Linked DNA regions of Homo sapiens: region 1 is linked to region 2. The links are contacts of gene promoters, found by promoter capture Hi-C in human tissues and cell types (Jung and others, 2019). All regions are on one chromosome and are shown on one strand. The core of a region is centred on a gene start or on the middle of the fragment in contact, and the rest is flanking DNA. Distances in the headings are between cores, read along the strand shown. Region 1 overlaps MAGI1 (membrane associated guanylate kinase, WW and PDZ domain containing 1). Region 2 holds the start of ADAMTS9 (ADAM metallopeptidase with thrombospondin type 1 motif 9).

Region 1 (6,296 bases), core at 2,593-5,092, 720 kb after region 2:
ATTTATATGAAAAAAGTAAAGCTGTAACAGAATACATACCATTTTGCAAAGAAAGGCTAGAAGGTTATGTGCGAAAACAGTATTTTCTTTGGCTCATGGGATTATGCGTGGCTTTATTAACTATTTTTAGTATCTCTACATCAAGAAAAGCTTTATTTATTTATAAATACACACATACATATCCACAGATACCACAATAAACAAAACTCTATACTGCTTCTTTTTTTTTTTGGACAGAGTCTCCTTCTGTTGCCCAGGCTGGAGTACAATGGTGTGATCTTGCCTCACTGCAACCTCCGCCTCCCGGGTTCAAGCAATTCTCCTGCCTCAGCCTCCTGAGTAGCTGGGATTACAGGTGCACGTCACCATGCCTGGCTAATTTTTGTATTTTTAGTAGAGACGGGGTTTCACCATGTTGGTAAGGCTGCTCTCAAACTCCTGACCTCATGATCCACCCACCTCAGCCTCCCAACGTGCTGGGATTACAGATGCACGTCACCACGCCTGGCTAGTTTTTCTATTTTTAGTAGAGATGGGGTTTCACCATGTTGGTAAGGCTGCTCTCGAACTCCTGACCTCATGATCCACCCACCTCAGCCTCCCAAAGTGCTGGGATTACAGGCGTGAGCCGCCACGCCCGGCCTCTATACTGCTTTTTAAGATAAATGCAGCATATTTCAGAACATTTTGTTGCATTTTAAAATCCCTTGAGCATCATTGATCTCTATATCCTCCAAGAGTTGCTTACTTTTCCCCAAAATGAATGCATACATATAGTTTTATTAAAGAACCCTCATAGATTAGGACCTGTGCTTGTCCTACTGATTAAATGTAAATACGGAAGAAGTAGGAGAGCTCAGCTGGGCTGTTGGGGAAACCAAGCAGAAGCCGAGCATTGCCATTTCAGCACTGAGACAAACAAAACCTGAGTTGCTGGGAAAGAGAGTGGACCTCTCTGGACCTAATTTCCTCCAGGTTTAAAGGAAGTGGGAATGCCAACCAACCTCACTAACTGAATGAATCAAGAAAAACTGCACAAAGAGGCTTTGAAAGGGTGAATCCTAAAGTGTCTGTCACATACAAAATGGATCTACGCATAAGAAAAATGTACTATTTTTGTCATCAATTTACATTTTTTCATTGTGATATTCATTCCCCTCTGCATTTGGGTCTCCCGACTTCAGCATTTTAGTGGAAACATTTTGCTTTCCTCCTAAGCATTCCAACAAATGCTGTGTCACTAATCCACATGTCACTGAACACATGGGATACCTTACAGTTTCGCAAGGCAAATGTTGCAATAAAAACTGAAAAACTGTCCTGGAGTTGGATTAGGTAATACAGTGTGCAAGGGGCAGGGAACTGTGTGTGTGTATATATATGTATACACACATACACACACAGTTATAGATCTCTCTCTCTCTATATATATATATCGAGGGGGAGAGAGACAGAGAGAGTAGGAGCTAGAGAGGGAGTCATCAGGGACCACTGAAAGCCACTGAAAGAAAATGACTGTGAGGTCTTGGTCAAGGGCTGGTCTTAGATACCAAAGAAGATAAAAGTACTTCTGAGCACAATCTCAGACCACATGAGCCTTCTCTGTTATTCGAAAACCTATCAATGCATAATTCTAAATGTAGGACTTTAAATTTACAATTAATTTTAACTCAGTAAACTGATCATTAGGAGTTTGTATTAAGGAAATAATCAGTCTTGCAAAAATTCCTATAAAAAGATGGTCGACACAGCACTATTTTAAGATGATAAAAAATGGAAACAGGCAGGGCGCGGAGGCTCATTCCTGTAATCCCAGCACTTTGGGAGGCTGAGGCAAGTGGATCACCTGAGGTCAAGAGTTTGAGACCAGCCTGGCCAACATGGCGAAACCCTATCTCTACTAAAAATACAAAAATTAGCTGGGTGTGGTGGCAGGTACCTGTAATCCCAGCTACTCGGGAGGCTGAGACAGGAGAATCACTTGAACCTGGGAGGCGGAGGCTGCAGTGAGCCAAGATCACACCACTGCACTCCAGCTTGGGCGACAGAGTGAGACTCCGTCTCAAAAAAAAAAAAAAAAGGAAACAATCTGAACTTCCAAGAGCGGAGGACTGAGTAGAGAGATGTGTTATATCAATACGATGAAAAATTATGAAACCATTAAAAATGAGCACAACAAAGAATATTCAGTGATTGGGGGAAATAATAATGATATAAGACATGAACAGCAGGGTAAAAACTGTGCATAGAATATATAAACTCATTGTTAAAAAGTGGATATACATATATATTCACACACATCATATACCCAAAGACTAAAGGAAATGCACTAAAATATTTTTCTAAACACTAGGATTAATAAGTAATTCATATTCTTATTTTCAGTATTTTCAAAGATTGCTGGATTTTACACATAATGTGGCAATAATCATCAACAGGATCAGTACTGCAGCCAATATGTAGCATGCCTGGACAATGGCACATACTGGCCTTAGCGCAGTGCTAGATTAAAAAACAACTGGAGTTTGTTCTATCTCTCCTTTGGCTCAATGACTTACTACCATTCTACTCAAGTGTTTATGCTCCTAAATTACTGGGTCATGGCCTTGATTGAAAAATGTGACACAAAGCTGTTATAGCCCCTCTCAAGCAAAGCTGCACAGAAGCACATAATTTTGCATATAATTTCAGGGAGTCTTTGAAACCTTCACTAGTGACCCTCAGAAACCCACTCTATTGGGGCCTATAGTCCTTAAGTTAAATCATCCTTGTCCAAGTATATGGCTATAGCATTAGAAGCAATTCCTAGGGTGAGATTTACTTTAGCTTAGCTTTTATTTTCAGTAAGAGCAGCATATAAGTAGAGGGGCCAATGGGAAGGATCAAACAGAAAGGTAAAACTTGCATTGCTTACTTCGCCTTCTTTCTTGGAAAGATTTAAAAGACACATCTGAAAAAATTATGAGGAGAGGAACTGTATTAAAGAACACAGGTAATTTTCAGCAAAAGTGCTGCTCCCTGGTAAAAGGAATGTGCCTCCTAGGCCATGCTTTTATTTGTTGGGGGTAGTAGGTTGATGAGTCAAAACAGTAAGAGATTATCGAGGCAAAGTCACAATGGGGTGCAGGAAAGACAAATTGAGAACAATCTGAGACTTCCCCAGCCAATCAGAATTGATGATTATTTGACTGCAATCCAGTGGTTCTAAACAATGAACATCAATGGCCGGCAACCCTTCTAAAAAAAAGCCATCTGCATCATTTCCTGCCAACCAGTTTTTTGTTTTCTTTGTTTAATAGAGAATATATAAGCCATGAAATAAATTTAAACTGTTCTCTCTGTACCAATAAAAAGCTAACGACAGTCCAGAAAACAGGAAAAGGTACATTCAGCCTTCACAGTTTCCACTGAGGGTAGGAAGGAAAACAGGGAAAATTCACTCACTCATGTAACCAAACTGTGCTGACAGCCTAGGAACTGGCATGAAATAAAGCAATGGGCAAGACCTACAGGGTCCTGCTTTCACAGCGCTCACATTCTGTGGGGAGACAGAATAAACAACTTAGCAAACAATTTCAGAGAGTGGTAACTTCTGTGATGAAAATGACGCAGGACAATGGAACAGGCTGTGCCGGGGATGCACAACTACTTTATGTTGGGTGATCATGCAAGCCTTTCTTGAAGAGACCGTATTTGAGCTAAGAGCTGAAGTATGAGAAGGAACCAGTCATGAGACCATTCATTCATACAAGATTTATTGAGCTCTGCCATATGCCTAGCAAAGCATCACTAAGAGATAAAAGTAAATCAGACATGGCCCCTGCCCTGGAGGAGCTCATAGTCTATTTTAAAAGAGAAAAAGCAAAGCAACCGTTTTATAATTCACAGTGGTAAGTGTTACATGCCAGGAGAGAAGGGAGCACTGTTGCTTTCAGGAATACAGGGAAGAGAAATCTAATCCGATATGAAGAAGGGGGCAGAGGGAGGAGCTGAAGTGAAGAATGGCTAGCATTTAATCGTGGGGTGGGGGAGTGGGTGGAAGCACATGCAATGATTGATGCTTGAGTGAATAATGATGATAAGCTTTTCTTGTTGTTGTTTTGTTTTAGCTAAATCAGTGTACCAGCATAAACTCAAGGCCAAGCTGAAACCAGAGTACATTTTCACTGAAGGACTTTATAAACACTATATATCACAAAATTGAATCCATAAAAAGGAATGAAAAAACGATCCCAGTTTGAACATGTTTCATTTTTTTTTTCTCCTTCTTCTGGCTAAATACCATCATAACCCCGTAGCATAATTTTTCAATACAAATATGATACCAGCTGCCAAGAACATAAGTATCAGACCCAATGTCTCCAAAAAGATGAAGACATTCTTTCCTTTGGGGACTTAATAATGGTCATTATGAAGTATTTTGACCATCATAATTTAGAGAGATAGTTGGACTTCAGATGTCTGAAATAAGTAGCTCCCAAGGCAGTGTCAGCTGGCATTTTGTGAAGAAGATTAAGAACATAGTTGTACTGGTTTTACAGCTACAGAGAAGTCTGCTTCAATTACACAGTACACATAGTCTAATAAATATGTCCCAGTAGAAATAAATGGCTTGCAAAGCTGGTGATTCCTGATGGCTTACAGAGCCTTTCACCTCAAAGTCACAAGCCTTGACCTGGCACAGGTAAGAAAGACCTAAAGTCATAAATACCTTGGACTGCTCAAAGACCTGGGTAAGATGGATGAATTGTCTCCATGCAATTCCTGAGAAATAAATGGTCACTCCAGAGAAGGTGTCATTGAAATGATATGGATGATCCTATTGTTGCTACTCTTGAAAACATGTGAAGTATGCCTAAAGGTTGAAAGCTTAGTGCAAAAATAACTAAAAAGTATTCAGAGCCTGTCTTTGACATAAATTTATTCTTCGTACCTGCACTCTAAGTACTAATATCTTCTCATTCTGCAGAAGAGAAAACCAAGACACTGATGGTCAAGTAACATGGCCAATGTCACACAGTCAGGTGAATAGCTGGGGATACTTGGTCTAAAACCAAGCCTGTGCTTTTAAACTATATGCTGTCATTCAAAGGTTCCTTAATTATTTTGGTTTAGAGTCTACTACGATAAGATTAATCCTATAGCCATTCATACATACCAAATGCATTTACAGAAAATTTTTAATATAGCTTTATGAAATACATGGACCTACCACTGACAACTGCTAGGTCAACGGGGTCAAGGTATCTAGGGCTCATAACTGCGACATGCATTTGGGAAGACAGTTCTTTTCTACAGATAGCCGAAGAGTGTATGCACAGTCAATCAATTTCTTAACACATCCCTGATATTTTACTCCAAGTCTCAGTACCTAAATCACTGGTCATTCAAGGCTACACATGCTAAAAATACAACGAGATCAGTCTCTGATTTGGGACAATGAAGCATGTCTTTAAAGCTACACAACTAACAGGTTGACTGGCCACAAAAACTCAGTTTCAAAGTGGGCAGGAGCTTTTTCTAGCTTGCAAATGTTTCCTGACGCTACCTAATAACAAAATTTCTTTTTTATTAATGGGCTTAGAGAAAAGATATGGAATGAGTCAGAAGTGGAGTGAACTATGGCATCTTCTCTCCAGAAAGGAAAGAAAAAGAACCGTTAACTTAAAACAACCACTAATTTGTCAAGATGTACCTACCACGAGGTCAATCTTTCTACCCTAGGTAATATTCCTACCAAGATCTACTTTTTAAGGGTAGAATTAAGCTAGTTTCTCATATGGTTCTAGGAAAGCTCTCTAACTTTATGTAAGTTAAAAATATTTGTAATTGTGGCATTTAGAAGTCGGGTCTTGTCTTCATCTAAAAATGCTTCTACCTCTAAGGAAGACTCCTTAACTACCATACCGACAACTTGAGGCTTCTAGTACCTATATTTCAAATTTGAATTGCTTTTTATGCAAATACTTAAGGGTTGACCATGTAACCCATTCCTCTTATCAACAGCTCATTCACAGAGGTCTCCCTAAGATAGGTGAAACTATGGTGGCCTGATAGCCCCATGCAGTTCCTACAAATTTGAGAGGGTGATTTTTAACTACATAGGATGTACGGGGGGATTATGAAACAATAGCTCAAAATAGCTCACCAAAAGAAAACACTGATAAGGATTCCTTTTCTGGGTTGGAAAAACAGGATGCTGTGTGGGCCCTTATTTTAAGGTCACCGGCCCCAAAGGAAAACCTATCACTGTAATTGGTGCTGAGAAGCTTGTAGGTTAAAAAATACACGCTGGG
Region 2 (5,982 bases), core at 477-2,976:
CTGACTTCCAGGCCGCCTCGCAGCGTTGGGCAACGCGCCGCTGAACCGAGTCCAAACTCCAGAAAGCTCTGAAACATCCAGAAGCCCCTGGGGGCGGGTGTGTGCGCTCCACGCCAGTGTACTCGCACGCACAGAGCTAGCTACCCAAACCATACGAGTTTCTAGCTGATATTTAACGCCGGAGAGGAGCGGAGCCTCGCCACAGTGAGGGTCTCTAGGCTTAGAGGACAATTAAGTCTTCTAGAAGCGGGCGAGGAGGCGGAAGGGGAGAGGAGGTGGCGCGCGCCCACTTACCATTCCTGAGCAGAGGCTGATGACGGCCGTGTGCTCGGAGTTGGTATTGACATAGCCTTTGTAGAAACAGTGCTTGAGTTCCGCTTCCTCTTCGGAATAAAACTTGGTCTGATTCACCCCGGGCGTCCCGAGGAGGGTGACAGTGAACAGTGGAGCGATAAATCCGGCATTGGCGGTGAGATTAAATAGAAACTGCTGGCCGAAGGCAGAGAGGCGGTAATGCGCCTGGGAGGAGGTAGAGGAGGAAGAGGAGGAGGCGAAGGCAGGCCAGGGGTCAGTGGCAGAGTTAATGCTCCGTCGCGTTCTTTTGAAGTGGACGTTCGTGGGAAAGGGTTCTCCGAGAGCGTTCACTCGGATGGGAGACACGATTTCGTATTCGCTCAGGGTCTCTAATAATTTCACTGCGGAGAGAAGCAGAGGTATATGAACCAATAATTCATTTTTCCTTAAGCTTTAATTTAAAACGAAGGTGGGGACTTTGTTCTGACCTTATTTTCCAGCCCATTCGAGTCAATCCCTTCACCCTTAATCAGTGGACAAATATTTGCTGAGCACCTACTATGTGCCAGTAACAGGACCTGTGCTAGGTGCTGAGGATACACTATTCCGAGCCAGACAATTAACAAGTCAAAATATATATGATTTCAGATATTGATAAATAACCTGAATAAAATAAAACATGACGCTATCTGGTGCCCCCAATTACTAAGTTACTTTAGTTTGCGGCGTGGGAGTGGGGATGGGGATATATCTGGCAACAGCAAGGTAGGGGGGGGTTGCCTAAATTCGTTTCCATAGTGTCCCTCCCTAGCAATTGGTTGGGGATGACCCAAAGAAGGGAGAGGCTGCAAAGCGGGAGATAATTCTTTCTAGGAAAAGGAGAGAAGCCTCCGCTGCGGGGTGCCCCTGCCCAGGAGCGAGGACCGGGAGGCGGCGTCGGGGCCGGCGGGGTCCCGGGGGCCGGAGCCTGGTTACCTTGCCTCGGGTGCAGCCTGTCCTTGCGCACGGCCGCCGCGGCGTCTGGGCTCCCCATCTCGGCCAGGTCCCGCACCAGGAGCGTTAGCAGTGTGGCCCAGGATACAAACTGCATGGTGCTTCCCACCCCTCCCTCCGCTGCCCCCACCCCCCTCCCTCCTGCCCTCCTTGGCTGCGGCGGCGACGCGAGGCAGCGGCCGTGGAGAGCGCGCGGAGCCCGGCGCCCGCCGCCAACTTTTGACTTTAGGAGTCGCTGAGGTCTCGCTGCGAGGGTCCCGTCTGCGCTCGGCTGAGCAACGCCGCCGCCTGCCGAGAGCTGAGCCGCTCGGGCCGCAGGAGGAGCCGGAGGAGCAGGAGGAGGAGGAGGACTGGGGCTCGGCTGCTTGGCCGCATAATGCCCAGCGAGCGGGCAGGAGAAGGCGAGGAACTTGCGCTCCGAGGCGCGCCGGGCGCCCTGTGCTGGCCGGGATAGCTGAGCGGCTTCTTGAATGGGGGGCTGGGGGGGCGGAGGCGGGGGGGCCGCGGGTCCACAGCCTCTCAAATGCCCCCGGTGCACGCCTCTAAGAGGAGGAGAGGGGAGGAGAAAGCGAGACGAACGGGGACCGCCTCCTTCCAGACCATGTCCCCTCCTCGGCCGGCCCGTGCGGGACTCGCAGCCGGAGGCCCTGCCGGCTGCAAGAGGCGGAGGCCAGAGGCGTCACCAGCGCCGGGGCAGCTGTTCCTGGTCCCCGCCACCTCGCTGAAGTGGGGTTTTCTGAGATTCCCTGCCCCGGGGAGGGAAAGCAGGGAAAGTTCTCTCCCTTTCCTGGCGCGCGTGCAGCCACTTCCCCTCTCGTCTTTTTCCTCTCCTCTCCTCTCTCTCCTCCCTTCCGAGTCTCTTTTTCCTCCTCCCCCTTGTCTCTCTGCTGCTGTGCCTCTCGGACTCTGTCCCTTCTCCCCATTTTCCCCTGTGATGTCTGTCTTCTCCCCGCCCCACCGTGTCCCTGTCTGTTTCTCACATTTCTCCTTTTCCTTTCCTTTCTCTTCCGTCCCCATCTCTTGCCACCAGTCCCCATCTTTTGGTTTCTTACAAGTGAAAGTGGCCCAGCGCCGGAGCGCCTTCCCTTCCTACACTTTTTCATTCGGGAAGAGATTTGGCACCTGAGCTCCGCTCTCGATTTAATCACCCCAAGTCAAGAGTTTTAGAAATGGGGTTCTTAATCCTGCAGGTCGGAGTGTGTTTCTAATACGTGGTCTCTTGAAAATTTCGCAAAATATTTAAGCTGTGCTTTCCACCAACCTCTGTCACCATTCATGGAGGGTCCATAGCATTCTGTAGGTCCCCTGCCCCAAAAAAGGTTAAGAACAAATTTTGGCAGCAAGAAGGGGCGGGGACTCTGGCGCCCCTCACTACCAGGGGGTTTAGAGATGGGAGGGGAAGGGGGGATGGAGTGTAAAGTTGTAGATCCCTGTGGGAGGCACCAGTCCCTGGAGGGATTTCTCAATCACTTCCGCTTGCTTTCAGCCTGAGAGATGCTTGGAAAGACTGGGAAAGACTGAAAGCAGGCGCTTCAAGCTACACCTTCGTGTGTGTGTGTGTGTGTGTGTGTGTGTGTGTGTGTGTGAATTGTTCAATCTTGGGTGGTTCAGTGGCGCCTTTTCTTTAACCAGCCCTCAGGAAGATAGAATTTCAAGATAATTTCAAGAGGAAAGACATGACAATATCGTTAAAAATATATAAATATATGACTAATAAATATATATTTGCCCAAGTATCCTAGAACGGGGGTTGAGGTTCTGTTGCGTGGTAGGTTAGCACTCAGGACTAGAAATACCAAAGATTGCCAACACCAGGAACCAAATCGCAATATGCTAGCAATGTCAACTATTCTTGAGATACTAATACATATATTTCTTCTGGTGAAGGGTAAAAATGACTTGGCAAGACGAATTTGCTAAATAATTGTTAACCCAAATTGATAATGTTACCATCGTCTTATTACTGGAATTTCATAATGGATATGTAAAATGTAAGGATGGAAAAATAACATCTGTATTGTGCACAATTAGAGATTTTTAGAGAATGGCATTTAAACCTTGAACCTCCAAATTAATTCACTAAAATACGTTTCTTCTAATACACAATCTTTCTTTTTATTATAACAACATTCCCCACAATCACAGTGTCTGGGAGTTGCTGAAAATTTAGTAAGGAACAGAAAAATATCAAGAAATCAATCTATTGGCTGATTCCTGTGGAAAATATTCCAGTACTTCCATTGTAAAATTACTCAAAAATATAGCACTTTCCAGTATTTCCCATTAAATCTTTTTTTCTCTTTCAGTTCAAATCCTTCCTGACAAAGAGAAGTTAACTAATGGTATAGAAATTACGATATGTAGGGACAGAAGCCTCCTTTGTGTACTCTCTCTCCTTTGCTTTCTTTCTAGGACTTTGCTTGAAGAATGAACTTTGTCTACAGTTTTAAAAAATTGATCCACAAGAGCTGATAGGCCAGAAAGATACAAAATATCTCTTGGTGAACTCCTGAGGTGACCAAGAACCTAGGTTTATGAATTTCTCATCCTTAGTGAGTCTACCCATCTTTTCTTCAGTGTATTAGCTGGCTTCTGCATTTACATCTGTAAAAAAGTCTTAAAGAATCTTAGGAAAATGTCTTTTAAATCGTGAGACATGAAAAAGACAGTTGAGCTAACTAAGCAAGTCAGGCAAAAATCTTTTGTCTGAATAATTACTCTTTGTCTAAATAAGTACTCTTATTCAGTACTTACCATGGGGTAACATATAGCATTTAATTTAATTCTCAAAACAGCTCTTTCAGGAAGTCAGTGTCAGTAATCTCATTTTACCAATAAGGATACCGAGATCTGAATAAGTGAAATAATTTGACCCCCCTCAATCCAGTAAGTGAGAGACACGATTCAAACTCCGTTTCAGTCGTTCAATCCAAGTTCATAACTATTATCATATGTCATGAATAACTGATTAATCAGAAGCACTGCTAGATTTTTGGAGGGTTGCTTTGTGGGAAAATGGCTAAAATCATTCAGAGAATTGCCTCAAGCTTTTATTGCATGTATAACTTTTCTTTAGCTCTCTCTTATTCTTCTCATGCAAAGTATTTAATGAAAATCATGTCAGCGATTTCATTGATATTTCACAGCTTTTCCCTCAGCAGTTAGAAGAGATCTGGCACATAGTAGGTAGTCAATAAGTATTTATTAAGACTAGGCATGGTGGCTCACACCTGTAATCCTAGCACTTTGGAAGGTTGAGGTGGGAGGATTGCATGAGGTCAGTTCAGCGGTTCAAGACCAGCCTTGGCAACATAGCAACCCCTTGTCTCTACAAAAAAAGAGAAAAGAAATAATAAAATGAAATAAAATAAATTGGCCCCTCATAAAAATTTGCTCTGAAAGAAGCAAACCTTTTCAAGGTCACCTGGAGTTAAAGGAGGGACAGTTTTTAGCCCGTTTTCTTCGTGGGACTTTACTGGAATTGAATGGTATTGTAGGTTAAGTGGAAGTATTCATTGGCTGATTCGTCATGAAAATTAGATCCCAGAGGAGTGATGAATGATATTAGTCACTAGGGAGAGATAATCCGGCCAATGGAAATGACAGTGATGACATCACAAATGACTCTGTTTGCCTAATGCCACTGGAAACAGCAGGAAGGAGACTTGAAGCAAAGCCATCAATTTCCACAGAAAGGGGAAACCCACACCCAAATGGTAGGGAGGGCCCAGGAGCCAGAATTCAAGTGAATAGTTTCCTGAGTGGTCAGCAGCGTCAGGTGATTTGGGGAACAGATAAGCCCCTGGTACTTGGTAGCACTGCATTCTGGTCAGTGAATCACCAAGCTGGGACCTGGTGCTGGCTGAGCTCTGTGACCTTGGGCCTAAAGAATCTTAGGGAGATGTGTTTTACATGACAAGAAATGAAAAGGACAATTGTGCTAACTAAATAATTTGGGTTCCAATCTTTTGTCTGAATAATAATAATGAGAATCTTTTCTTGAGTACTTACTATGTACCAGACCATGTGTACTATGTCCTCTCTGATCCGGTTTCCTATTTGCAGACTGCAGCAGGTAGAAACTGTGTTGTCTTTGTTTGCCCTGTGAGTGAATGACCTTAGTGTATTTTTTAAAAGTCTTCTAACTACTGACTTCAAGCAACAGGTACTGTAGAGAAAGTAGTTTGTATCATTATTGATAATAACAGTAGATTCCCTTCATTGAGTTCTTTGTGCTAATTATTCAATCCTCATAGCTATCCTGCCATCTGGGTTTTACCCTCCTCATTTTACTTACAATGAAAATAAGACCCAGCAAAATTAAAGTGACTTTGCCTGGCATTATGGAGTCAGAATGTGCAGTTGGGATTTACACTGGGGTCCAGTTACCTCCAAAGCTTGTGATCTCCATTAATCAGAGCAGCCTAGTAACATAAAGACTGTCGCCTAATTGATCTTCATCATTCAGCATTTATATTTGGCCTGATGAATACCATCTGTGAGAACATCATTTTTTCTTCTAATGCTAAATCTAAAGTTCTAACTAGCTTTTCTTGACCCTACTCTGAAAGTCATAGTTCCACTTTGGAGGTGGCTCTGTATAGCTCATGACCAGCTTATAGCAGTTCTACGAAGGTGATCCGATCTTCAGCCTGTTCACTCAGCAGGAGCTCCTTGTTGACTTGTCATTCTAGA

The links. The method cuts DNA at HindIII sites, captures the fragments that hold promoters and counts their contacts. A contact is called where the count stands out against the background at its distance.
Region 1: a fragment that was not itself captured here is called in contact with the fragment with the promoter of ADAMTS9 in region 2 in 1 of the 25 tissues and cell types used here (hippocampus).

What each region holds. Positions count from the first base shown.
Region 1 is chr3:65,405,383-65,411,678 of GRCh38, forward strand. All of the region lies in intron 12 of MAGI1 (membrane associated guanylate kinase, WW and PDZ domain containing 1), which reads right to left. Among named protein-coding and RNA genes, the nearest start is that of LINC02040, 230 kb to the left of the region's middle. RefSeq lists an enhancer at 2,904-3,443. The HindIII fragment of the contact is 3,453 bases long and covers 2,117-5,569 here.
Region 2 is chr3:64,686,274-64,692,255 of GRCh38, forward strand. It overlaps ADAMTS9 (ADAM metallopeptidase with thrombospondin type 1 motif 9), which reads right to left and starts at 1,727. Exons shown (of 40, transcript NM_182920.2): 1 at 1,270-1,727; 2 at 295-695. The coding sequence starts at 1,384. All of the region lies in intron 1 of ADAMTS9-AS2 (ADAMTS9 antisense RNA 2), which reads left to right. The HindIII fragment of the contact is 6,670 bases long and covers 1-5,009 here.